2 separate regions of the Homo sapiens genome follow, and region 1 is linked to region 2. Evidence: promoter capture Hi-C in 16 types of primary human blood cells and fetal thymus (Javierre and others, 2016). All regions are on one chromosome and are shown on one strand. The core of a region is centred on a gene start or on the middle of the fragment in contact, and the rest is flanking DNA. Distances in the headings are between cores, read along the strand shown.

Region 1 (4,690 bases), core at 395-2,894, 990 kb before region 2:
TGTTAAGGTCAACAATCAATAAGAAATAGAAATATACTACAAAGTTTCTGAAACCTGTTTGGTAATTTTGGTAGAGAGAAAAATTCAGCAAGAGAAAAATCTTAATCAATCCAAAAGTGGCAATACAGCAAAGCAAAAGAAACATAAAATAAACTGGAAAAAACCAGAGCACATGATAAGATAGTGGAAATAAATACAGTGCAAAGAGATGGTCAGATTGTATATTTTTTTAAAAGAAAAGGTAAGTATTCATTACAAGAGACTAACCTAAAACAAAGAATACCAACAGGCAAAAGGTTGCAATCAAAATATAGAAAAATACATGCAAATGGTTGAAATCAAAATATAGAAAATCAAAATCAAAATATAGAAATCAAAAAATCAAAATATAGAAAAAATCTATAATGTAAAGCTAAAACTAAAATATCTAAAATGTAAAGCTAAAACTGAAAGCCTATATATATAAAGAAAGCATATATACATATATTTTATTTATATATATAAGTAAGATCCAATTCACCTTATTTCACTAACAGGCACTGCAGAAGAAATGGACAAATCCATCATTATTTTGGAGAGTTCAAAAGATCCTTTTAATTAATAATACAGTCAAGTAAGAAATAAAAAAGACTGGAAGTTTTGGAAAAGCAATATTAACAAGCTTGGTTTGTGAACATGTGAAGAAACTTGTAATTACAAAAAACTTGTATTCAGTACTTATGAGGTAGTTTTTAACAATGAGAAAATCATTAGACCTTAAGATATATTTTGCTTTTCCCTTTCTATTTAAGTGATACCAGGCTACTGGTTATCGTACCCTGTCTTTATCTGATTTTCATATTCTTTCCTTTGGGTATTTGCAGTAAATGTAAGCTCAGAAACTATTTATTTCAAACCATAGGATTTCAAATATCAAATCTCTGCATGTATCAGTATATTTTAATATATATATCATTTTCTGGAGAAATGACAAGACATTTTACCTTGAATTAAAGTGATATTTCTCAAGGTCTGAGAATGTTCCCAATCTTTCAGTCTGAGATCATTAGTGATGTTATTCAGTACTTTCACTTCTCCTTTTATTTCCTGTTCCAAATGCACTTGTTCTTCTTTCATAGCCATAATTTCTGCTGATACATTGTAAACACGCTCCTCTAATTTACTGATTTCCTGTAAAACATAAGTGAGCATTCACAGCCTTTGTTACATACATAATTATCAAATATGAAAGTTCAAGAAACCCTCGGAGTTCAGGTTTTTAAAAACATATTATGGGAGTTTTATGGAATAAGAATATAGAAATTAGAAAACTGTTTTGAAAGTAGTAATTCTTTAATTGTGAAACATTTCCTCTTTTGACTGAATGGCTGAATGTTTACAATCACAACCCCCTTCAAAAATCAATTTAATGTATCTATGATATGTTTCTATTCCTATATATATAGATGTCAAAATTCTAACAATAAAATTAAATAAACACCATAAGGTCTTAATTTATCTGAAGTAAAATGTCTTCGTACTGTACTTACAGTGGCAACATAGTCAAATTTCGTGAATTTGATAGATTTATATTGGAAATTGTTTTATAGTAATAAGTGAAGTTTAATGTCATAATCCTCAGTGGTGATGATCATTGACAATAGATTTTCATACTCAATAAAACCTCGAACTCGCATATTAACAGTGCTTTACTTTCAGTTTGCATTGCCTCTGTATTTGAGGCATTAGTATTTTGTGTTTTCAAATACACGTATATTTTGTGTATATTTATACATACACATTCATATACTTAAGAGTGTGAAAAAGACAGAGGATCTACCTATATCCTGGAATATGCTTTTATATTTTACTCAATAATATATTAAGGATATTTATCTATTAAAATACTTTAGAGACTGATATTTTCAGTAATTTAGTGGAATTGAATCTATTTCTCAAAATTTATTTAGGATTCCTATTCATAGTGTTTTGAGCTGTGCACTTTTCTACAACTAAACAATGCTGCCATGAACATCATTTTAAATATATTTGTATATTGATATAAGTACTTCTATAGAACATCTTCCTGAAGTGGATTTGACCAAAGGGACTAAACATTAAACAGCATTTTTGTTCAACCATTGCCGTACTACTCTCCAAATATATGCTACCATTTTTCTTCCTCTTACTGCGTATCAGCGTCCACTTTTTGCAGCTGAATACTGGGTACCATTAATATATTTAAGTTTGCATAGTAAGAGTAGGTACATAGCAAATCATTATTACTTAACTTGTTTTTCAAATTATAGTGAGGTTAAAGTATCCAGTCATTAAATTTCTGACGATTAATGTTTATTAATTTTTCTTTTAGATCATTTGCTTGGTTTTCTCTTTCAGCATTGGGCTTTTTATTTTTGATGAACCAAATGTTCTCATCTATTCTGGTAATAATTTTTGTCTCTCTGTTCTACTTTTATCCCATTTTCTGTCTTCATTGTATGCTTTATTATTGTATTAAGTACTCCTATGTTCTAAAGTTGATAGATACTCATTTCCGATTTGCACATGGGGAAATAAGCCAGTGGTATGTTTTTCTTTAATCCAGAAGTAAAAAGAATATTACACTCTCTTGAGCTGGACTAGACTAGACAAGCTTAGGTGAGAGGATCAAGATGGTCAGAGTGTAGGACCTTCGAAAATAAATGAATGTGCGTCTAGATTTGCCTCTTCAATGACACTATACTGAAGCAGAGAGACTTACCAGCTTTTATTGCTCTAACTGTGCCTTCTCCCAAACAAAACCTTATTCTAGATTAGAATTTCTCTATCTTGCACCTCCTCCTCCCCTGACCATTTAATATTTTCTGTACAATACCATCATTACAATAAAGGTGAAATAGTGAGCATGGATGTTTGTAGGGCACACCGCCATGATAAATACACTTGACTTAATTTAGGGGGCTAAAAATTGCTGCAAGTATGTCGGGTAGTTCCAGACATTCAGCATAAAGTGTTAAGTGACTAGACAGTGATTTTGCTTCCTAGAAACGAGGAATCATCCAGGTTTTTCATCATACCTAAAAGCTGAGGCTACTTTTTCTTTCTTTTTTTTTTTTTTTTTTTTTTTTGAGACGGAGTCTCGCACTGTCACCCAGGCTGGAGTGCAATGGCATGATCTCGGCTCCCTGCAACCTCCACCTCCTGGGTTCAAGTGGTTCTCCCGAGTAGCTGGGATTACAGGTGCACACTACCACACCTGACTAATTTTTTTTTTTTTAATTTTGTAGAGATGGGGTTTCACTATGTTGGCCAGACTGGTCTCGAACTCCTGACCTCGTGGTCCACCCACCTCGGCCTCCCAAAGTGCTGGGATTACAGGTGTGAGGCACTGCGCCTGGCAGCTGAGGCTGCCTTATTATTCCCTTCTTTGAAAACTGCACATGGTGTTTACATTTGTCAAATTTCAGTGGAAATTATTTTCACTGGGAGGAGGAAAAGTGTATTTAATTTCAAAAAATCCTATATAGCATCCACACACTCCCTCCACATGCTACCACCAGTGACCCTCCTAGAAACAGGCATTTAATTTTGTAGTCGTACAGTCCTTTTCACCTCTATGGATGATGATAAATGCCACCCCTGTCTTTCATTTGGTGCCAATGTTCTTCCTCTTTCTTTCAAATTAATTTTTGGTGTGTCCTTGATAAGTGTTATGCTGGTGTCACTTATAACCTATTTCCTCAAACGCCATTTACAAATTCAGGCATTCATTTAATTTATTTATTCCTACATTGAGCTAAAGATTCAAAGGTCAATAAAATTATTCAAGCAATGGGGATGAGCGTCCCAATGTTGTTTTTCAGTGTACACAGGAGTACACACACACACACACACACACACACACACACATGCACGCACTGGCACTGACCTAGTTTCTAAGTCTCTGTGAGTGACTACTGTTTTTAAAGATGTATATAGCTTTCAAACTTTCACCATTCCCTTGCATTTCCTTTTCTAATGCTGGAATTCCCTCCAAAATTTAAGTGTAATCTATCGAAACTCAAACAGCTCACTGATCACCAGATTTTGATCGTTTCCATTAATTATCACTTCAAACAGGTTCAAAATTTCTACCACCTTCCAGATAGTTTCCAATTTGCTTTCAATTCCTCATGTTTGGGTTCAAAAGCATTCGATGGTCAGCCAGGCGCAGTGGTTCATGCCTGTAATCCCAGCACCTTGGGAGGCCAAGACGGGCAGATCACCTGAGGCCAGGAGTTCGAGATCAGCCTGGCCAACATGGTGCAAACTCTGTCTCCACTAAAAATACAGAAATTAGCCGGGTGAGGTAGCACGTACCTTTGATCCCAGCTACATGGGAGGCTAAGGCACGAGAATCACTTGAACCTGGGAGGCAGAGGTTGCAGTGAGCCATGATCTCACCATTGCACTCCAGCCTGGGCAACAGAGTGAGACTCCATCTCAAAAACAAACAAACAAACAAACAAACAAAAACATTCCATGGTCTCTGCAGGATTTAATGCACTGCCAGAATCAAATGTATCCTTCTTCTTCCATCTCATCCACCTTCCCTCTGTCCTTACCTCATCTCAGTGCTCTTCTGACCCTATTTCTACATAAATAGTATTTCTTCTCCATTCTTCTTTCCCCTCAACTTAATCAATGTCTATCCTGATAACTAACATTTTCG
Region 2 (4,793 bases), core at 2,294-4,793:
CACTGATGTCATGGACTGCTGCCTTCTAAAGAGCTCTTCTCCCCCAAAAGAGTGATAAGATTAAGTTTGAGAAAATAATGAAAGAGAATCTATCAGTATTCATGCAGACCACTCTAGTAAGGATGGGAGAGCCATTAGTAAATAAGATATAGATCCAGACCTCAGCTTCATTGCTTCCAATCCTTGTAAGATTTAGAACTCCTTGTATTTGTGAAGTATCATACCCTCTTAGCAAACTCAAGACAATCAACGTCTCATATACATGAGACTAATACGACTGACCTCATATCTTGTTGCAATGTTGCCCTCTAAGAACCCTTCCAAAAGGAAGGAGTAAATATCAAGCAAGTGTCCTAATAGTTTCTGGTAGGTGTTTTGGCTGAAAAGCTTGAGATGAGGTTGGCATAGGCAACATTAAGGGGGATCTGTGTTCTCTAGCAGCAGGTGCGTCCACGCCTTCCTGGGTTTGGCTAGCATGCTATGTTTGATTCATACTATGCAAGGGACTATGTTAAAATGGTAATCTGGATCTGCAGGCAGAAGGAAGATTAGCAGTATTAATCATGAAAGTACGGCAGACTTGAGGTTTGGGAACTCAAGAATTTGGGGGACTGGGCTGGAGGGAGAGGAGGAACGTTTAAGGTTCCTGGGCTGGGCACGGTGGCTCACACCTGTAATTCCAACACTTCCGGAGACCGAGGCGGGCGGATCACCAGGTCAGGAGTTTGAGACCAGTTCGGCCAACATACTGAAACCCTGTCTCTACTACAAATACAAAAAATTGGCCGGGCACGGTGGCGGGCACCTGTAATCCCAGCTACTCGGGAAGCTGAGGCAGGAGAATCGCTTGAACCCGGGAGGCGGAGGTTGCAGTGAGCCGAGATGGCGGCATTGCACTCCAGCCCAGGCAACAGTGCGAAATTCTGTCCGCCCCCCCCCCCCAAAAAAAGAGAGATTCCTTCATGGGGCAGGAACTGAAAATAAGAGTTGTGAAAATTTGAGAGGTGAATGATGTTGCTAGACCGCTGAGTGCAAGGAGCATACAGGCAGAGGCCTAGCGAGGATGGAGTCATGGTCATTAGGGACTGGATGAACCCAGCAAGGGGGCTTTTCTCCCGTTCTCAGTCACTCCCCTCACCCCCCTCCTTGCCTGGCTGTCCGCTCGTCTCTTCTCTTCCTTAGCGTCGCCTTCTTCCTCCTTTGCTGTGGCTGGCTTTCTTTTTCATAAGTGGTCATATCAGTTTAATCACAGTTATACATGAAACCTACAATTTCTTATGCTTATTGAACATTTAAATTAAAATTCGTGAGTTGAATCTTCTGTATTTCTAAACAGTAAGTCTCTAGTGAAGTTTCTTCTTGTCTATGACCTTCAAATTATTTTTTCTGTTTATGTAGTCCTAAAGAAAAAGAAAATAAATCAAAGGCTCTCTATACCTCAAAATAAAAGCTCTCCTTCCACTCTCATCAAAGACTAGTATCTAGAGATTGGCTACTCACCAAAGAGCTTACATTTGTGCGTGCTGCTTATGCCTAATTAGAGACTACGCAGAGATCAATCCTGTTATCTTGTGGCTGTGGAGATGCTTCTTCCTAATCCAGACTTTTTCTGTATTTAAGATAAGAGAACTTGAAAAACCCAGTAATAGTAGTATCCTTAAAATGGCAATAACAAAAAAAAGTTGAAAATATTTCACAAATATTTATTATAAATAGGAACAATTAAACAACATCTTAGATGAGTAATAAAAATGTAGCTCCTTCAAAGATATGACACCTGCATACTTTTCCAAAAGGGTAGATGATGTGAAAACTGGGCAGAATGCTATTCCATTTCCGATTTCAAGACCCTGTAGGACTGTGAGAGGAGGAAGAGCACAGGGCATCGTCGCATCCAGGATCTACAGAGGCACTATTTGCACTTTCTCCACCGTTTCCAGTATGGAAAATCCGATTCCTTCCTTTTCATACCTTGATGGTCTCTATTGACCTTCAGTCACTGATTTGCTTCTCTTTGTGAGGGTATTTCAGTCCCAGGAGGAAGTTTTAATTCCTGTTTTTTACTCTCTTCTGATTGGGGGGGAACACAGGATTAATATTCATGGAAAACATTAAGGAATCCAGAGAAGTTTTATTTTTACATTAATATACAGAATATCCACAGAGAATATAAAAGGCTACAGCAAAATCAAGTGATTCACTGGGACATAATATGTCTCTCTTTTCAATTATTTAAAGTCCCACAGAAACTTGACTGACATTTTCTATGCATTTTTGAAGAGAAATGGAAAGAGATGTGGGGTGGGGGGCTGTAACATAGTAGCTATTTCGGGAGAGATTAGCTTGTTGTGTAATCCAGTCACAGAAAGATAATCGCAGACACCAGAGCTAAATTTCTTTGACTGAATTCATGTAAATCAGTATTTTTTTTTTACTTCTACACATGAATAAGAAGTAATTTCATTCACTGTGGTTGCTGTGTGGTGTAAATACACATATTCACTAATGTTAAGAAAAATTGTGCCTATTATGTATAGTAGTGATGCACATAATTTACACACACTCATTGATTGAAATGTTTCCCTGTGGATCAGGTGCGTTCATAATCAGATGAAGGAAAAGCAAAGGAGGCATTTGTTTATTTTCCATTTCGTGAATCATAAAATCAGAGGTTTGGGCTGACTACCTTTAGGTTCCCTTACGGTGTTTTTTGGGAACCGCTTTGGAGTCAGCTATCTGCTAAGTTTGGAATTGCCACCACGAAAGTAAACACCGTAGTGAGGAGCGGGTTGAGGAAAAGAATAAATAGTTGGTGGAAGGAACCACCGTACTTGAGGGAGGGGACAGTGGGAACGGCCCCTGTCACAATCATTTATCCAAAGCATCAACATTCTCAGAGCAAAGAACTTGTGTTTCTAACTCCAGAGGTGCCTGGATTCACAGCCAAAAATGCTTCTTCCTCGCTCTCCACAGCCCCTCCCATGCCAGACGCCGGCTCGGCACCCCCTCTTCGCTGTGCATTTCTGCTTCCCCCGAAAGCCCGAGTAGTAAAGGGAGGCTCCTTGCGGCCCCCGCGGGCTCCCAGGGACCCGCAAGTTGAAGCGCGAGGGTTCCACGCGGGCTGCGGGGACGCGGGCCTCGGTGCTGCAGACTTTCTCAGGGCGCCTGGGTCGCGGCAGGCGCGGAGTCCCGAGCGCAGCAGCTGCTCCGCCGGCCTCGCCTCCGACCCCCGCCCTGCGCCAAGCGCGGAAGCGCTCGCGACCTAACTGCCCCGGGTGCCGGGCGCCTAGGGAGGGGCCGCCACCGCCCGCTCCGCCCCGGGGGCCTGCGCCCAGCAGCCCCCGCCTCCCCGGAATCCAGAGGCCGAGCCGGAGGCGGCGGGGCCACGGTGGGAGCCCGCGAGGTGGCCCGAGCGAGGGCCCCGCATCCCCGCAGAGCCCGCCCGAGGGCGCAGCCTGCCACGCCAGGGGAGGCGGCCGGGCGGCGGGGAACGGCGGGGGCGGAGCGCAGCCTCCCGACGCCGCCGCCTCACCGCCCCCCTCCGCCTCCTCGGCCTCCGCTCGCAGCCGCCGCCTCCGCCTCCGCCGGGCTGAGGAGCCGGGAGTCCGCCGCGCCGGCTCGGGGCTGCGGGATGGGGAGTTAGCGCCACGGCGGCGGCAGTGGCCGCAGCGCACCCCGCCGCCGCCCAGGAGCCCGTCCAGCCAGGGGTGCCGGGCCCGCCCAGCCCGCCCCGGAGCCAGGCCCGCGGGCGGCGGCGGAGCTGGGCAGGTGGATGCGGCTGGAAGATGGCGCCCTCGGGCCCGGGCAGCAGCGCCAGGCGGCGGTGCCGGCGGGTGCTGTACTGGATCCCGGTGGTGTTCATCACCCTCCTGCTCGGCTGGTCCTACTACGCCTACGCCATCCAGCTGTGCATAGGTGAGTGCGCCCCCCGCCGCGGCGCCCCCAGCGCAGCGCAGCCCACCCCGACTGTCCCGGGACGCTCAGCCGCTCCTCCGCTCTCGCCCCCCGGATGCGCCCCGGGCGCTGCCAACCTGCCGCGTCCCGCCGGCTCCGCCGCTAAAAGCAGCCTCGGGGCAGCTTCTTCCACGCGCACGCCCCTCGCCCTCCCCTCCCAACTCTCGGGTTAAGGTGGCGCCTCCGCCCCGCACTCGCCGCCGAGCCTCCCGCCGCCTTCCGCTCACCGCCGCCGCCTCGGCCACACCCCCTAGAGGGGCGGAAGGTCCCCGGGACCGCTGTGGAGAGGGGAGGCCGAGGCCGGCGAGGCGCGCCGGGGGCTGAAGGGCTGAGCTGGGCCCGGCCCCGAGCTGCGCCAGACCCGCGCGGGGGTGCTGGCCTTGGCGGCGGAGCTGGATCCCTTGCTGGTTGGCGTCAATGCACTTGTTAAAAATTTGTGACAGCGCTCAGGGGCGTTTTTGCTGCCTTTATGATTTGAGGATTGCCAGTTGGACACTTTTCTAGTTTAAAAGGATGTGGAGGAGGTGAGCTACTAGAAAGTATTTTTGAGGACATGTGCAACACACTAAACCATAATTTAGGTGTTTGAACAGTAGGGAGAGAAAAAAAGAGGTGATCGTCTGAGGTTTTTACATCCAGAGAGCGAAGTGGCTCCAGTCCGAGTTCGAGGTTCCTGAATTGGTGGGTAGGATACTTTTAATGCTGAAGATTAAAATTTTTTAAAAAGTTGATTATTATGCACAAGTAGGGAGTACAATGATGTCGCTTAATGTAAGCTGGTTTCTACCTTCAGGGGTTTTATGAAAACTGATCTGGGTTATCAGAAAAAGATGTTAAAA

What was found. The method cuts DNA at HindIII sites, captures the fragments that hold promoters and counts their contacts. A CHiCAGO score of 5 or more calls a contact.
Region 1: a contact is called between a fragment that was not itself captured here and the fragment with the promoter of ZDHHC2 in region 2, in 4 of 17 cell types (M1 macrophages, M0 macrophages, monocytes and 1 more). The highest score is 6.2, in M1 macrophages.

What each region holds. Positions count from the first base shown.
Region 1 is chr8:16,163,082-16,167,771 of GRCh38, forward strand. It overlaps MSR1 (macrophage scavenger receptor 1), which reads right to left. Exons shown (of 10, transcript NM_138715.3): 5 at 984-1,170. Among named protein-coding and RNA genes, the nearest start is that of MSR1, 27 kb to the right of the region's middle. The HindIII fragment of the contact is 1,971 bases long and covers 660-2,630 here.
Region 2 is chr8:17,152,939-17,157,731 of GRCh38, forward strand. ZDHHC2 (zDHHC palmitoyltransferase 2) reads left to right here and starts at 3,544. Exons shown (of 13, transcript NM_016353.5): 1 at 3,544-3,915. The coding sequence starts at 3,786. RefSeq lists a silencer at 3,003-4,362. The HindIII fragment of the contact is 4,757 bases long and covers 386-4,793 here.